3 separate regions of the Homo sapiens genome follow, and all the other regions are linked to region 2. Evidence: promoter capture Hi-C in human tissues and cell types (Jung and others, 2019). All regions are on one chromosome and are shown on one strand. The core of a region is centred on a gene start or on the middle of the fragment in contact, and the rest is flanking DNA. Distances in the headings are between cores, read along the strand shown. Region 1 holds the start of LOC105375445 (a long non-coding RNA gene). Region 2 holds the start of HBP1 (HMG-box transcription factor 1). Region 3 overlaps SLC26A4 (solute carrier family 26 member 4).

The links. The method cuts DNA at HindIII sites, captures the fragments that hold promoters and counts their contacts. A contact is called where the count stands out against the background at its distance.
Region 1: a fragment that was not itself captured here is called in contact with the fragment with the promoter of HBP1 in region 2 in 1 of the 25 tissues and cell types used here (dorsolateral prefrontal cortex).
Region 3: a fragment that was not itself captured here is called in contact with the fragment with the promoter of HBP1 in region 2 in 1 of the 25 tissues and cell types used here (dorsolateral prefrontal cortex).

What each region holds. Positions count from the first base shown.
Region 1 is chr7:107,874,068-107,878,864 of GRCh38, forward strand. It overlaps LOC105375445 (a long non-coding RNA gene), which reads right to left and starts at 168. Exons shown (of 3, transcript XR_927851.2): 1 at 54-168. The HindIII fragment of the contact is 5,699 bases long and covers 503-4,797 here.
Region 2 is chr7:107,167,229-107,171,919 of GRCh38, forward strand. It overlaps HBP1 (HMG-box transcription factor 1), which reads left to right and starts at 1,775. Exons shown (of 11, transcript NM_012257.4): 1 at 1,775-1,957. RefSeq lists silencers at 1,303-1,876, 1,895-1,994, 2,255-2,474 and an enhancer at 1,425-1,584. The HindIII fragment of the contact is 2,484 bases long and covers 887-3,370 here.
Region 3 is chr7:107,691,613-107,696,022 of GRCh38, forward strand. SLC26A4 (solute carrier family 26 member 4) reads left to right here. Exons shown (of 21, transcript NM_000441.2): 11 at 2,791-2,868; 12 at 3,009-3,104; 13 at 4,321-4,410. Among named protein-coding and RNA genes, the nearest start is that of SLC26A4-AS1, 32 kb to the left of the region's middle. The HindIII fragment of the contact is 5,968 bases long and covers 177-4,410 here.

The DNA.
Region 1 (4,797 bases), core at 2,102-4,601, 710 kb after region 2:
CAACATCATCCAGGACTCCGTATCACTGTGATGCCATTTCTCTCCTTGATTACCTCTAATTCCTTAGAGTTTGCTCCATCATAGGACCACGCATGGAGGCAAGGCAGTTGCAATGGCTTCAGTTTCTATATCCACTCAGATGGACATCTCAAAGGAACAAGGGTGTGTTTCATTCTTTCTCATTCTGTCCTAAGTCCCTAAACCGATTCCTGTGGCCATGGGAATGTGTTGCTCTGATTGGCCAGGCTTGAGTCACATCTCTACAGGGCAGACATGTCCAATAGAAATATAAGGGGAGCCATAAATGTGAGGCACAGATATAAGCCACATATGTAATCTTACATTTTCTGGTAGCCACACTTTAAAAAGTGAAAAAAAAGGTGAAATTAAATATAATGATACATTCTATTTAACCTAGTATATCCAAAATGTTATTCTTTCAGCATGTAATCAACATAAATGATGATTAAAATGTTTTATATCATTTCTTGTACCAAGTCATCAAAACTCATCATTTTAACAAGGCTTCCAACTGATGATGTGTTGGGGGGTGGAGGGCCTGTGAGACATACTTTGAGAAACACTAACCTACACTTTCATTTTTTCTGTGTTCCCAAAATTACCTTTAGAGTGCTCAGAGTACTGAGACATCTGCTGAAATATGCTGGAGCAATCCAGAGTGAAGCAGGGTTGTTACTGGATAGAGCAAGATAGGATCAGAGACGTTTAATATTGCTGCCATGTTGCCGCCATCTATTGGTTGTGTCACATATTACAGGTTCATAACCGAAAAAATGAAGCTGGTCATTTGTGGGCCCCTTTATACTTCTGGCAAGACACCTCCTCAACTGCATCCTGAAATGACTTTTCTTTAGAATTCTTATTTATTACAGAATACAGAAAAATCTTAATAGTTGTGCATTATGGATTATCAGGCCTACGTCTAACAGAATGTTGTTGTTGTTGTCAGCTACAGAACAGATAGATTTCCTTTAAATATAACCCTATTATCCTGTCAGCAATCCACTGTAAGTGACCTTGGTTTCTGTTTCTGCAGATTTTCTTCACCTTCTGAAGGCATTGACCAGAGAAAATTTCTTAACATCTCTGAGCCTTAGTTCCTTCAGCTATAAAATATAGGATAATAATGCTACCTTCTTCATAGCGTTATTGTGAAGATTAAATTGCATAGTGTTTATAAATTATTTGGCACAGTGCCTGATGTATATAAAGAACGCTGTCAATGTTATTGTTAAGAAGAATAACAAGTCTTAATGGAAATTTGAACAGTGACTGGAAATTTGATAACATTATGGAATTAAATTTTATTTTGTTTTTTTTAAATCCTTATATTAAAAAAATCCTTATCCTTTACAGATACACACTGAACTAGTTATAGGTGAAATTATATGACTACTGGGATTTGTCTCAAAATAAAATGGAAGGGAAGTGAGCAGTAAAGCAATATTGGCTATAATCTGATCATGGTTTAAACTCAGTGAAGGATTTATGAAGGTTTATTATGCTACTTTGTTTTGTGTATGTTTGAAATTTTCCATAAAATTTAAGCAAACAAACAAAATTGCCAGGCGCAATGGCTCACGCCTGTAATCCCAGTACTTTGGGAGGCCGAGGAGGGCGGATCACCTGAGGTCAGGAGTTCAAGACCAGCCTGGCCATCATAGTGAAATCCCGTCTCTACCAAAAATACAAAAATTAGCCGGGTGCTGTGGTGCGTGCCTGCCTGTAGTCCCAGCTACTTGGGAGGCTGAGGCAGGAAATTGCTTAAACCCAGGAGGCGGAAGTTGCAGTGAGCCGAGATTATATCACTGCACTCCAGCCTGGGTGACAGAGCAAGACTCCATCTCAGAAAAAAAAAAAAAAAAAATTAAAAAAAAAAAGAACAATATGTTTTTATATTCTTCACAGCAGCATGTATAATGCTGGACATACTGTGGGTACTACATGTTGATTTGTTGATTAATTGCTACCATGGGATAGAATTTTGTCATCTTGGGGAGAACAACTTAAAAGATGAACTTAAAAGAATTGACTTCACATGCCTCCAGAAAAAAATTAGATGGGAACACGTTTTAGCTTAACATGCTAAAGGTGATTTTGTCAGAAAAATCATGATGAAGTGTATCACTGTTGGCATAGCAAAAATTGGCAATTCTCTAAGAGATGCAGAAAGGAAGAATTGTAGAGATTATGTCTTTCAGCATCTATCTTCTTGACTTAAGTAAATAAATAAGAAATACCTACTTCGTTTGTGGATAGGAATCAAAGAAATATCCCATCTGTGGCAGATAATAATTATGTTCTTTGTTATAGCATATCAGAGAACCCATCCGTAATAGTATTGGTAGGGATAGCTATATTTGTATGGTAGTTACAGCTCTTGCATTCAAACTTCATCTAATCCCATTACATCTAGTTGATTCTTTTTTTTTTTTTTTTTTTTTTTTTTGAGATGGAGTCTTGCTCTGTCACCCAGGCTGGAGTGCAGTGGTGCAATCTCAGCTCACTGTAACCTCTGCCTCCCGGATTCAAGCAATTCTCCTGTCTCAGCCTCCCGAGTAGCTGGGATTACAGGTGCATACCACCACACCCAGCTAATCTTTGTATTTTTAGTAGAGACGGGGTTTCACTATGTTGGCCTGGCTGGTCTTGAACTCCTGACCTCGTGATCCACCCCCCTCAGCTTCCCAAAGTACTGGAATTACAAGCGTGAGCCACCGTGCCTGGCCACATCTAGTTCATTCTTAAACCCGCCCGTATGTACCTCTTTATACCCTGTCATGTGAAGAGCAAACTCCAGTTCCTCTCTGCCTAATAGATTTTCTAATGCCCTACCACAATTTTCTCCTACATTATTTCATGCTCTTTTAATCCTTGGATATAGCAATAACTTTTCCACTTCAATGTGGATTTATTCACAGATCTTGAGTGTTTGGGTCATTTCACTTCTTGTTTTGTTTCTTAATTCTTTCTTAACTTGAAATATTAAATGAAATGTGTTGAAAGAGATAAGTATTTTCCCTCAAGTACCATTTCCACCTGAAGGGGTTTAAATTCTGTGAGAACAAAGACCATGGAGAGGAAATCCTTCATAAGCTGGCAGAAAGTGGCCTTTAAGAGATACACTCCAGTTCTCCCGTTCCTCTTATCTCAGTCTCAGTTAGAGAGAGAAAGGAAGCGAGAAGGCATCTATGGGTTTCAGAGGCATTTAGATTTTTTTCAATTGATTGAACAGATCAACAGTATAATTGTGTTGGTTCAAGTCCCGTAAAAATGGTTAGAGGCAGAGAGTCATTTTATAAAAAGAGTGAGGGACTTGGGATCAGAAATTCTGAATATGAGTTCTGTCTTAATCACTTGTCAGACTTGTAAGCTTCGACCAGCAACTCAATCATATTAAAGCAGTAGTTTCATGCTTTATTATCAGAAGTAATGATAATAATAATATCGATGTCAGGATTACTACTATGTAGACCAGTACTGGTAATGTCTGTGACAGAATTCTATAAAATGTAAAGTGCAATTAATACTTGCTCTTAGAGCTCATTAAAGACTCATATTTCATGGCAACTACTTTAATCCATTTTATGGAAGATTCACTATAGAATACCTGTAGAGACTCAAGTGACTCAAAATGTACTCTGAAAGTGAATTCTTTTGGGAGGCTGAAGCAGGCAGATAGCTTGAGCCCAGGAGTTTGAGACCAATCCGGGCAACATGGTGAAACCCAGTCTCTACTAAAAATACAAAAAATTAGCTGGGCACATTGGTGCATACCTGTAGTCTCAGCTACCAGCTACTCGAGAGGCTGAGGTGGGAGAATCACGTGGGCCTGGGATGTCAAGGCTGCAGTGAGCTGTGATTACACCACTGTACTTCAGCCTGGGCAATGGGCATGAGACCGGGCTAAAAAAAAAAAGTTAATTCAACAAACCTGCTTGATAAGTGTTCAGTGGGTTATAGCAGTATAATAATTTACCTTTTTAAGGACATACTGTGAACCAGGTGGATTATTTACAAGTTTTCTCTAATTGTCCCAACAGTCTTCGATGAAAGTATTATCTCAATTTCACAGGGGAGGAAATAATTGAGAGGTCAGCAAATTTGTCCAAGGGCACAAAGGAATTGCACAATGAGATTCAAACCCCTAGGCATTACCCTAAAGCCCATACCCTTTTCCCTGTACTACTTGGTAAATTATTATGCCTTTGTCCTTTATTCCTCTTTGCCCAGATGTCTCTAGGCCTCAGGAGTCACATTCTCCCTGACTTTTCATCTCCCTCTATCAAAATCCTACCCACCTTTCAAAATCCAATTTCAGTAATTACGTCTTGCACAAAGACATCCCCCAGGTCCCTGGCCCCTTACTTACCATCTCCCCACCTCCAAATTCCTGCAGCACTTATCTTTCCTACTGACTTTCATTCATTGAACAATTTTTTTTGAGTCCCTATTACATGCAAGGCATTGTTCCAGGCTCCGGGGATGTATCTGAACAAAACAGATGGAAATCTTAGTACTTGTGTAGCTTAGATTCTACTGGCAGGAGAAAATGTTATAAAACAAACACAACAAAGTAATTATATAGAATGTTAGAAGATGATAAATGCTGTGGAAAAAAAAAAGCCAGGTCAAGGAGAATGACAGTGCAGGGCAGAAATGGGTTGTGTTGCGATTTTCATTAGAGTGGTAAGGACAGATTTCACTGAGAAAGTAACTTTTGAATAAGGACTTCAAGGAGGCAAAGGAGTGAGTCATATGTCTACTGCTGGTTTG
Region 2 (4,691 bases), core at 525-3,024:
GATAAATTCAAATCCTGTCCTTTTTCCTCAGGGAAAAAATTAAGCATTCTGTTGGCTCTCCTCTGAATTATTTTAATAAAAAATAGAATGCTTTATTACTATTTGTGAACATAGAAAGTAAGTATTTGATTACACGGGAGGACTACTTTATAATTTCACTTCACGGATTCAAATGGGGAATTCTCAAGAATTTTAAACTCGATTTCAACATGTGGGGGCTTATTTTGGATTTCTTGATTTGTTACGCGGCTTTCAGGTATATTTAAAAATCCAAGAAATGCAGGAGGTTTTAAAGAAATAACTAGCTGTGTGATTTCTGGCTCTGTCCAAAGGTTTGCTTTTACAGATTTCTTACTAATGTAGGTTTTCCTCATCTTAATTCTAAGCATATATTTAGTGATCTAAAGTTAGAAAATCTAAAGCACAATTTAAATGATTAAACACTAAAGGTTCAAAGGGGGGAAAAAGCTTAATCATGCCTTTGTAATGTGAATGGTAAAGACACCAATTATTGACTAGATGCAGCCGACTGTGAATGGACAGCCATGTTTAAAGAGAAGTTAACTATAAAGCAGGGAAGCGTCTCTGGTGAGTCAGAGAATTCGTAACTTGAGGAACTCCTAGTGGAAATGAAGTGGAAAGACAGTTTCTTTCATCAATGAGAAAACGTCTAGAAGGAAAAGAGGGTTAATAAAACTCACCAGAGAAACTTACTGATAATGATTCACAAATTAAATCAGTTTACGTCATACATTACACCCTTTGTATTACGTTAACCAACGAGCATACTAATCAGTATGGAAAATGCCGCTTTAACTTGCCTCAATTTCGTAATCGCCCGCCCCCGCCCCCGCTTTGTAAATTCTCTAGACTCCAGCTTCTCGCTTGCTCACAGTCCATCCCCCAGCCTCACTCTTCCTGGCACTTAGGTGGCGGCTCAACAAACTTAGGTGAACTGAACAGAGCTGACAAGGCAATCTCAAGTTGCTGTCCTGGGAGTGGTGAGGCAAGGCACAAGAGAAAGGACTTCTAGTTCTTCCCACTGCCAGTGCAGCCCCCAGCATCACTTTCGACCCCTTCGTGCCTGGGGCCGTGATTTGTGGGTGATCAAGTCCCTCGCTAGCCTGCAGTACTTCCGCTGGTGCAGTCATCTCCTTCCCCTCGCACTAAAACAATACCCTGGCCTCCTGCCAAACTCTTGAGCAGCGAGCAACTCTGGCTGTTTATGGCCCGGATTGGGTGCTGCAAGAGGCTTGGGCCGCTCTAAGTGTTAGCAGAGGCCCGGAGGAAAAGAAGAGGCCCAAGCTTTAAAACACTCCCTTCCTCCGCCCCCTCCCTTTTGTCCCAGACACCAAAACAAACGAGCTGATACACGTGTCCCTATGACTCTTGTTTACTATCAAGACTGCGCTGTGCGAGCGCCTCTGGGATACGTAGTCCAGCTCTTCCCCGGCCAGCAGTCTCCCACAGCCAAGGACCAAGGCTTGAGACTACGAACCCACAATCCATTTCGGGGACAAAGTTTGGCTTGGGTCCCCGGACTCTCGGCAATAGTCCAATCCGAAGCACTTACTCTTGTGATTGACATGCCATCTTCTCCAGTAAACACAACACAAAAGTCAATACATGCCCGCCCCCCGAGACGGACCACGGTACCACCCAATGGGAAAGGGGAAGAACCGAATGGCAGTTCTGCAGTCCAATAAGAGGGCGAAAGAGCTGGGCGGGGCTCAACCCCCAGGGGGTTGAGGGGAGGGGGAAGACGAAGCTTGAAAGACTTGGTAATGGCGACGGGTTTGGTAAGTAGGAAAGTTTCGGTTGAGGAGTAAGAGCTGCCGCGGGAGCAGTAACCCGCGCGGGGGAGGCCGACGTCGGTCGGAGAGGGGGTACGAGAGCTGCTGGTGGTGTTGTCGTGGCCGGAGCGGCCCGCGCCTGGGCTGCCGGCACTTCGCGGCAGGTTTGTTGTCTTTCAGTTAGGGAAGAGGTGGGGGTGGGGAAGGGAGGGGCAGGAGCGCGGGGGATTGGGCAGACTGGAGGGCTCGGGTCCTCGTTCCTTCTTCTCGGAGGGTTGCCCTTGGGGTGGGGGCAGTTAACCGTTCGATTGGTGCCCGCGGCGAGCCCACCGGAGCAGCGTCTCCCGCGAGCTCACCTGGGCTTCGGGGCGGCGGCGCTAGGGGGTCTCGGGCGGGGGCCGGGAGGAGGCAGGGGGAGGGCGAAGTTCCGGGCCAGGTCGCGCGGTGGGTGGCCGGGCCGGGTGTGGAGATGGGGCGGGCCAGGGCGGGGGAAGGGGCCGACGCAGCGCCGGGGCTGCCCAGGAAAGTTTGACTTCAACTCCCCGTTTGTGGGCGGAGGGTCGGAGCTTGGCCAGGGGTGGGGGGCTGGCCGGAGGTGGGGGACCCCAGTGAGGCGCCGCCTCCTTCTGGACTGAGGGGGATTCTGGCTGAGCTGAGGAGCTCGCGGAGCCGCTGGGCCCCGGGGCTCATTGTTACGCAGTTCGAATGAATGGGCTCCCAGGCGCCTGCGCGCTGGGGCTGAGCCGAGGGGAAAAACAAGCCCGGAGTCCGGGCTGCGGTCACATGATGGGGGGAAGGGAGGGGAACGCGATGAATGGCGAAAGAGGGTGGGGGATGGACTTGGCGTGAACCGGGAGGCACCGCTCTGTGTGACCCAAAGAGGAGGCTTGGCAGGCGATTCCAGTCTCCGCCTTTCAACCTATGCTGCCACCGCAGGCCGATTGAAACAAAACAAAACAAACCAGGCGAAGTGGACAGCCAGGTTTTTGTAGCTTTAAATGCTGCGTGCTGTCTAGGGTGTTTCACTCTCCGCTGTGCACTCTACACTCGAGTTCATTCTTAGGGAGTTTTCAGCTACAGTCGTTTTTAGAAGGAGCACTGACAGCGAGGTAATACTCAAGTTTTCTGTTTGTTTTGTTTTTGGCTCATGGTGCCACTGATGCCAGGACGAGAGGAGGCTTAGAAAAGGAGTTATACATACTGGGAAGCGATGGAGTCCTACTAACAGCTCGGATGGAGGCTTTAGCTTTATTAATACTTCCCTCTGAATAGCCGTAAGCACTCCTAATAGTGGTTTTGAAATTAAAGGTACTTTTTGAGAATTAGAATAATTTTAACATTGGAAATACTTTTCTGGTCATTTAACAGTGATCTAAATCTGCAATGTATGTCTTGTACTTTTGGTTTTTTTTTGCTATTTTCCTTTATCTTGCAAATGAGTGTGGTAGAGTCGGTCATCTGTTCAGTTGCCTTGGTTAAACTCAGTTCTTGCAAGGTAGACAGTAGTTGACAAAATTTCAAGGAAATTTGAATTATATTGAGAATTAAATCCACTCCCTAAAGTTTTTGGGTTATGTTATACTTTTGAGGAGCCGTTTAACCACTTTAAAGCAAAATATTGTTTGTGCTTTCTCTACTGATAAATTATAGAATGAAGTTTTGATTTCACTTTCTAGTTTCATCTTAGTTTTGTAAACCTACTTATCTTTTCTGTCTCGAAAACCCTTCCTCTTTCTTAACTTCTCAAACTCCTAACTACATACCCTAGTTAAAAGGGTACCTTCTCCCAGGATTGCCCACCTACATGTCTCCGCTATCCTGTGTGCTTCACAGGGCATACCTCTCAGACGTCAAACATGATACTGTCACTGTAAGAGTTGTTTTCTTCACTATATACATATGTATATGTATAAAATATATAACATATACATGTATATATATAAAATATATAACATACATGTATATATATAAAATATATAACATATACATGTATATATATAAAATATATAACATATACATGTATAAATATATATATATATATATATATATATATTTTTTTTTTTTTTTGAGAGGGAGTCTCGCTCTGTCGCCAGGCTGGAGTGCAGGGGTGCGATCTCGGCTCACTGCAACCTCCACCTTCTGGGTTCAAGCGATTCTCTTGCCTCAGCCTCCTGAGTAGCTGGGACTACAGGTGAGCGCCACCACTCTCAACTAATTTTTTTGTATTTTTAATAGAAACGGGGTTTCACCATTTTGAGCAGGATGGTCTCAATCTCCTGACCTCGTGATCTGCCCGCCTCGGCCTCCCAAAGTGCTGGGATTACAGGTGTGAGCCACCGTGCCCGGCCCACTATATTTTAACTTCTTTGGATTCTTTCCTCACTAATCGAAGTGGCCAGTGAAGAAGGCATATGGCACGATGGCATGGACTTATGAAACTGCTCTGTGCTGAGGGTTCTTCAGGGTGAATTGCAAGCTGGTGTTTTGTATATGTGTTTGAAATAAAAATACTGGTACTCCCCTTTCCACCCCACGCATACATTATCCATTAGAAGTTACTACTGTCCCAGCACGGTGTCTCACGCCTGTCCCAGCGCTTTGAGAGGCTGAGGCGGGTGGATCACCTGAGGTCAGGGGTTCAAGACCAGCCTCGCCAACGTCGTGAAATTGTCTATTAAAAATACAACAGTTAGCTGGGCATGGTGGCGCACACCTGTAGTCCCAGCTGCTTGGGAGGCTGAGGCAAGGGAATCGCTTGAACCCGGGAGGCAGAGATTGCAGTGAGACAAGATCAGGCCACTGTACTCCAGCCTGGGCATCAGAACGAGACTTCCTCTCCAAAAAAAAAAAAAAAAAAGAGTCAATGCCAGGAATTTTATGTCTGTTAAGTATGAAAGT
Region 3 (4,410 bases), core at 1,911-4,410, 530 kb after region 2:
CAGTGACTTGCCCAGGGAGGGCTTTAATTGTCCCCAATATGCATGTGATGCTCCTTTCCTATTTATAATGGATCTTGTGACAGACTTGGAAGAATTGGCCTCTTCCAGTTTTTTGGCTGCTTTTCAACAAAAAATTTTATTTTCAGAATTTTTCTTAATTTTTTATTTTTTTTGCAAATATTTCCAGCTCTGAGGGAGCAGGTAAAATAATACAGCTCATATCCGGAGGCATAGCCAGAGATCTGTGGTCAAGGGGAAGAGGTCAGAGCCAATTTCCAAAGCTGTGCACATTTCAGGCTGCAGCTGTCAGCAGCAGGAACTTCTGCTGCTTTCATTTGAGACGGAGCACTGACAAGCTCTCCAGAGCACATGGTCTTCAGCGGGTGCAGGCAAATCTCAAACTGCTGATGTCCATTCTCCTGATGTTACCTCCAGGCTCAAATGAGGCATGGGCTGGCTGTCCCAGTAAGTATGCCCATGTAAAGTGACCTCCTTGGCACAGGGTTTGGGGGATAATGGTGCTCTGGTAAGCTAATACCCCCTGCCACATACTGGCATGTATTATATTTAGGAATGAAGGATGCCAGGATTTCAGCATTAAAGAATGAAACGAGTAAAGAAATGGCTTCATGTTTAATTATTGAAATGTATACTAAATTCTGGGGTTAAAAGTCTAAGTGCCTGAACTGAAATCCAGGGACTGATGGACAAATAAACTGGCAGGGCTTCTCTTGTGTGGCTTCTCGTGTTTTCTCTTATGTTGGAACTTCAGTTTCAGCATCTACAAAATGGAAATGATAATTGCATCCATTTCACAGGGATATTGTGAGGATTAGGCAAGAAAATGTAAAGCCTTAGCACATACTTGTAAATGCTCATTGTTTCACTCCTTTAGGCAAGAATAGCATCTTAGCATCTATGATACATATATTGTGCCTGGCACATAAGAAGCACCTGGCATATATTTGCTGAATGAATGAATGGAAGAATGAGTATTGGTGGACACGAACTGTTTTTAGCACATCTACAGATTGTAGAAGAATTAAACATTGGAACCTTTTCTTTCCCTCACCCCCATCTGACTTCCACTGACTCACAGAAAAGTAATTCTGATTACAAACCACTCTTTAGCTCTGATTACCCCCTCCCTTAACAGAATAATTTTTTAGTAACTGAATCTGGTTGTAGATATAAAGTCTACAGAGTTTCTCACAAACAAGCCTTATCAAGTAAGTAGAAATAATTGATCACTCACCAATTTTAATATAGTGGCCAAAATGAGCCTTGGCCTCCCATAATTGGAGACTCATTATGACATATAATTGGCAAGTAGGTGGCCACTCTCCTGGCATGAGTTTGGCAGCTGACTGTGGTCCTTGTCCCCAAATCTCCATATCTTTCTCCAGTTCACAGAGCTCCCCATCCACAGTGAGATGCAAGTGGCTCGGTAAATACTGGTTGAGTAATTGCATGCAAGGAAGGAAGGGAGGGATAAGGGAAGGAAAGAAAGAAGAAAATGGAAGGAAGGACAAGGGAGAGGAAGGGAAGGGATATGAAGGAAAGCGAAGAGAAGGGAGGGAAGTAGGATATCAGCTTCTCTGCTTAGTCAGGAGAAGGGAAAGAGCACCAGGGTACTGGGAATCTAGGATGGGGATAGGAAGAGCATAGAAAAGCCAGCCAGACATACAAAGCACGCTTTTTAGTACCTCATACACATCATATTGCCTCAGGCTGACCCAACTATAATCTAAATATAAATGATCAATTTGCCAGGTAGAGCAAGTGCTTTCTAATTTTCTGTTTATATTTGCTGTGTCTGTCTCCCGTAACTCAGACCTTTTGCACTAGACAGTACTTGTGCTCAACAAAATCTTCCCAGTTGTTTCCTCTCTGATTGCTTTGCTTGTAGTTCCCTGTCTCCTTTTCTTCTTTGTTTCAGAGCTTCTAATCTTCATCTTGGCTCTGCCCCAGCTGTCTCAACAGAGAATTCATTGGTCATCTAATCAAACGAGAGAGTAGTCCCCACCCCCTCAGCCTCTCTCCTAACTAGTATGGATCTTAGGAGAGCTATTTTTGCCAGCGAAGGTAAAGTTTCTGAAGCTTCCTTTTACCCCTGCTATTGCCCCGTTACTCCATAGTCACTGTTTCAGGCTGCCTTGGGGCAAAGCTCTGAGCCTGCCTCCGTGGAACTGTCAGAGGAGGCAGGAGACACAATCCCACCTCTCAATGTGCAAATGTGGCATTTCGAATTTGCAATAGGATGAGTAAATTTATTTTCTCTGAGACTTTAATGAGACCATGTGCTACAAGTACGAAGTGTTATCAGAGTTGCTATTATAGCTGCAGCTTCAATAATGCAGAAAAATCAGCTATGTGCCATGAGAATTTATTTCCCAAGAATACGACAATGATCTCTGTTGTTGGGAAAGGGGGGATTGGTCCATGTTTCCTGCCATGGTAAATAACTAGAAGCTTGGCCTGAATGGACGCCGAAACCGCAGGTGTGTACTATCACCAAATAAAATCCCTGTCAAACTGGCTTTAATTTCATAGGATCAGTCCCCATATTTTCTTTAACTTCTCTGCCATAGCATATATAGATGCCATTTTTGTTCAGTTTTGTGGCTTGAGCAAATAACTATCACTTTTCTCGACAGTATTGAGCAGAAGGGGGAGACAGGGAAGTATGAAGTGTGTCTGTGAACAGGCTGTCTCATACACACATCCAGTGAGCTGGAAGACACAAGGGAGAAGGACGAATCCTTTTCATAGGAGGTGTGTGTCTTCCAGGTTGCTGGCATCATCTCTGCTGCGATTGTGATGATCGCCATTCTTGCCCTGGGGAAGCTTCTGGAACCCTTGCAGAAGGTATAACCCTGCTTCTCTGCATACCGATTGCATAATTTCCCTTCACTACTCTGCTACCAGATAAATAACAGGAGATTTAACAATCATCACATGGAAAACCATTCCCTGAATAACACAGCCTTCTCTGTCTCTCTTGGCAGTCGGTCTTGGCAGCTGTTGTAATTGCCAACCTGAAAGGGATGTTTATGCAGCTGTGTGACATTCCTCGTCTGTGGAGACAGAATAAGATTGATGCTGTAAGTCACCTACCACCTATATTTATCTGAAATAAGATTTGGTTCTTATATGCTTCCTGCCATATCACTATATTCCCCCCATCCCCTAAGTCTCACTTGTGCTTTGGGAACTCCAGAGGAGAAATTAGAATTGTGGGGATAAATCAAAGCCATGAAGTCTTCCATGTGAACTGCATTTTGTGAAGATTCTGTATCTCTGGGAAGGTCAATTTCCAGCAAGAATCCCATATGAGGCTCATTCATACACCTTTGGCCTTCTAAACACAAAAAGCAAAAAAATGTTTAAACACCCTAGTTTAGAAGGACAAACAACATACAAAACAATGCAAAAACAAAATACAAAATGTAAAAACCCACGCTGACTTTAACTCTGACTAACATAACCTTTGCAACTATTCTGAGAAACTAAAAATCAGAAGCTAAATCCTTCAGAGTTCCTCTCTAATTTAAACCATAAAAAGAATGAGAAGACTTCCTACATATTGATATGGAAAATTTTCCAAGACAAATCGTTAAGTGAAAAAGAGACCAGAATAGAAATGCTGGGGAAAAGCACAGACACAGGCAGAAATAAAAGCGGATACAAGGAGGGAGGGAAGTTGGGAATGGGTGGAGAAGGGGGAGGGTTGTGAGCAAGAGTTTTCCCCTTTTTAATGATAATTCCCTTATGAACCATACAAATATATTAGCTATTCAAAAATTTAGAAATAAATAAAATGGGACAGTTGGTCTTAATTGAGAAGCCCAGTTTCTACAGCTACTTAAATATAAAATGAATGAAGTCACAATATTTTTAAAAAGCTGTGATTTGGCCAGGCACAGTGGCTCAGGCCTGTAATCCCAGCAATTTGGGAGGCAGGAGGATCACTTGAGCTCAGGAATTTGAGACCAGCCTGCGTAACACAGTGAGACCTTGTCTCTACTACAAATAAAAGATTAAAAATTAGCCGGGTTTGGTGGTATGTACTTGTGGGTAGTCCCAGCTACTTGGGAGGCTGAGGCGGGAGGATCACTTGAATCCAGAAGATGGAGGCTGCAGTGAACTATCATGGTGCCACTGCACTCCAGCCTGGGCAATAGAGTGTGACCCTATCTCAAAAGAAAAAAAAAAATGTAATTTGTTTGTGGATCATTGATCTTATTTTTATAGGTAGTTATCACATGATGGTACCTGATACATTAATATAATTCTTTTCATTTCTATTTTTTTCCCTAGGTTATCTGGGTGTTTACGTGTATAGTGTCCATCATTCTGGGGCTGGATCTCGGTTTACTAGCTGGCCTTATATTTGGACTGTTGACTGTG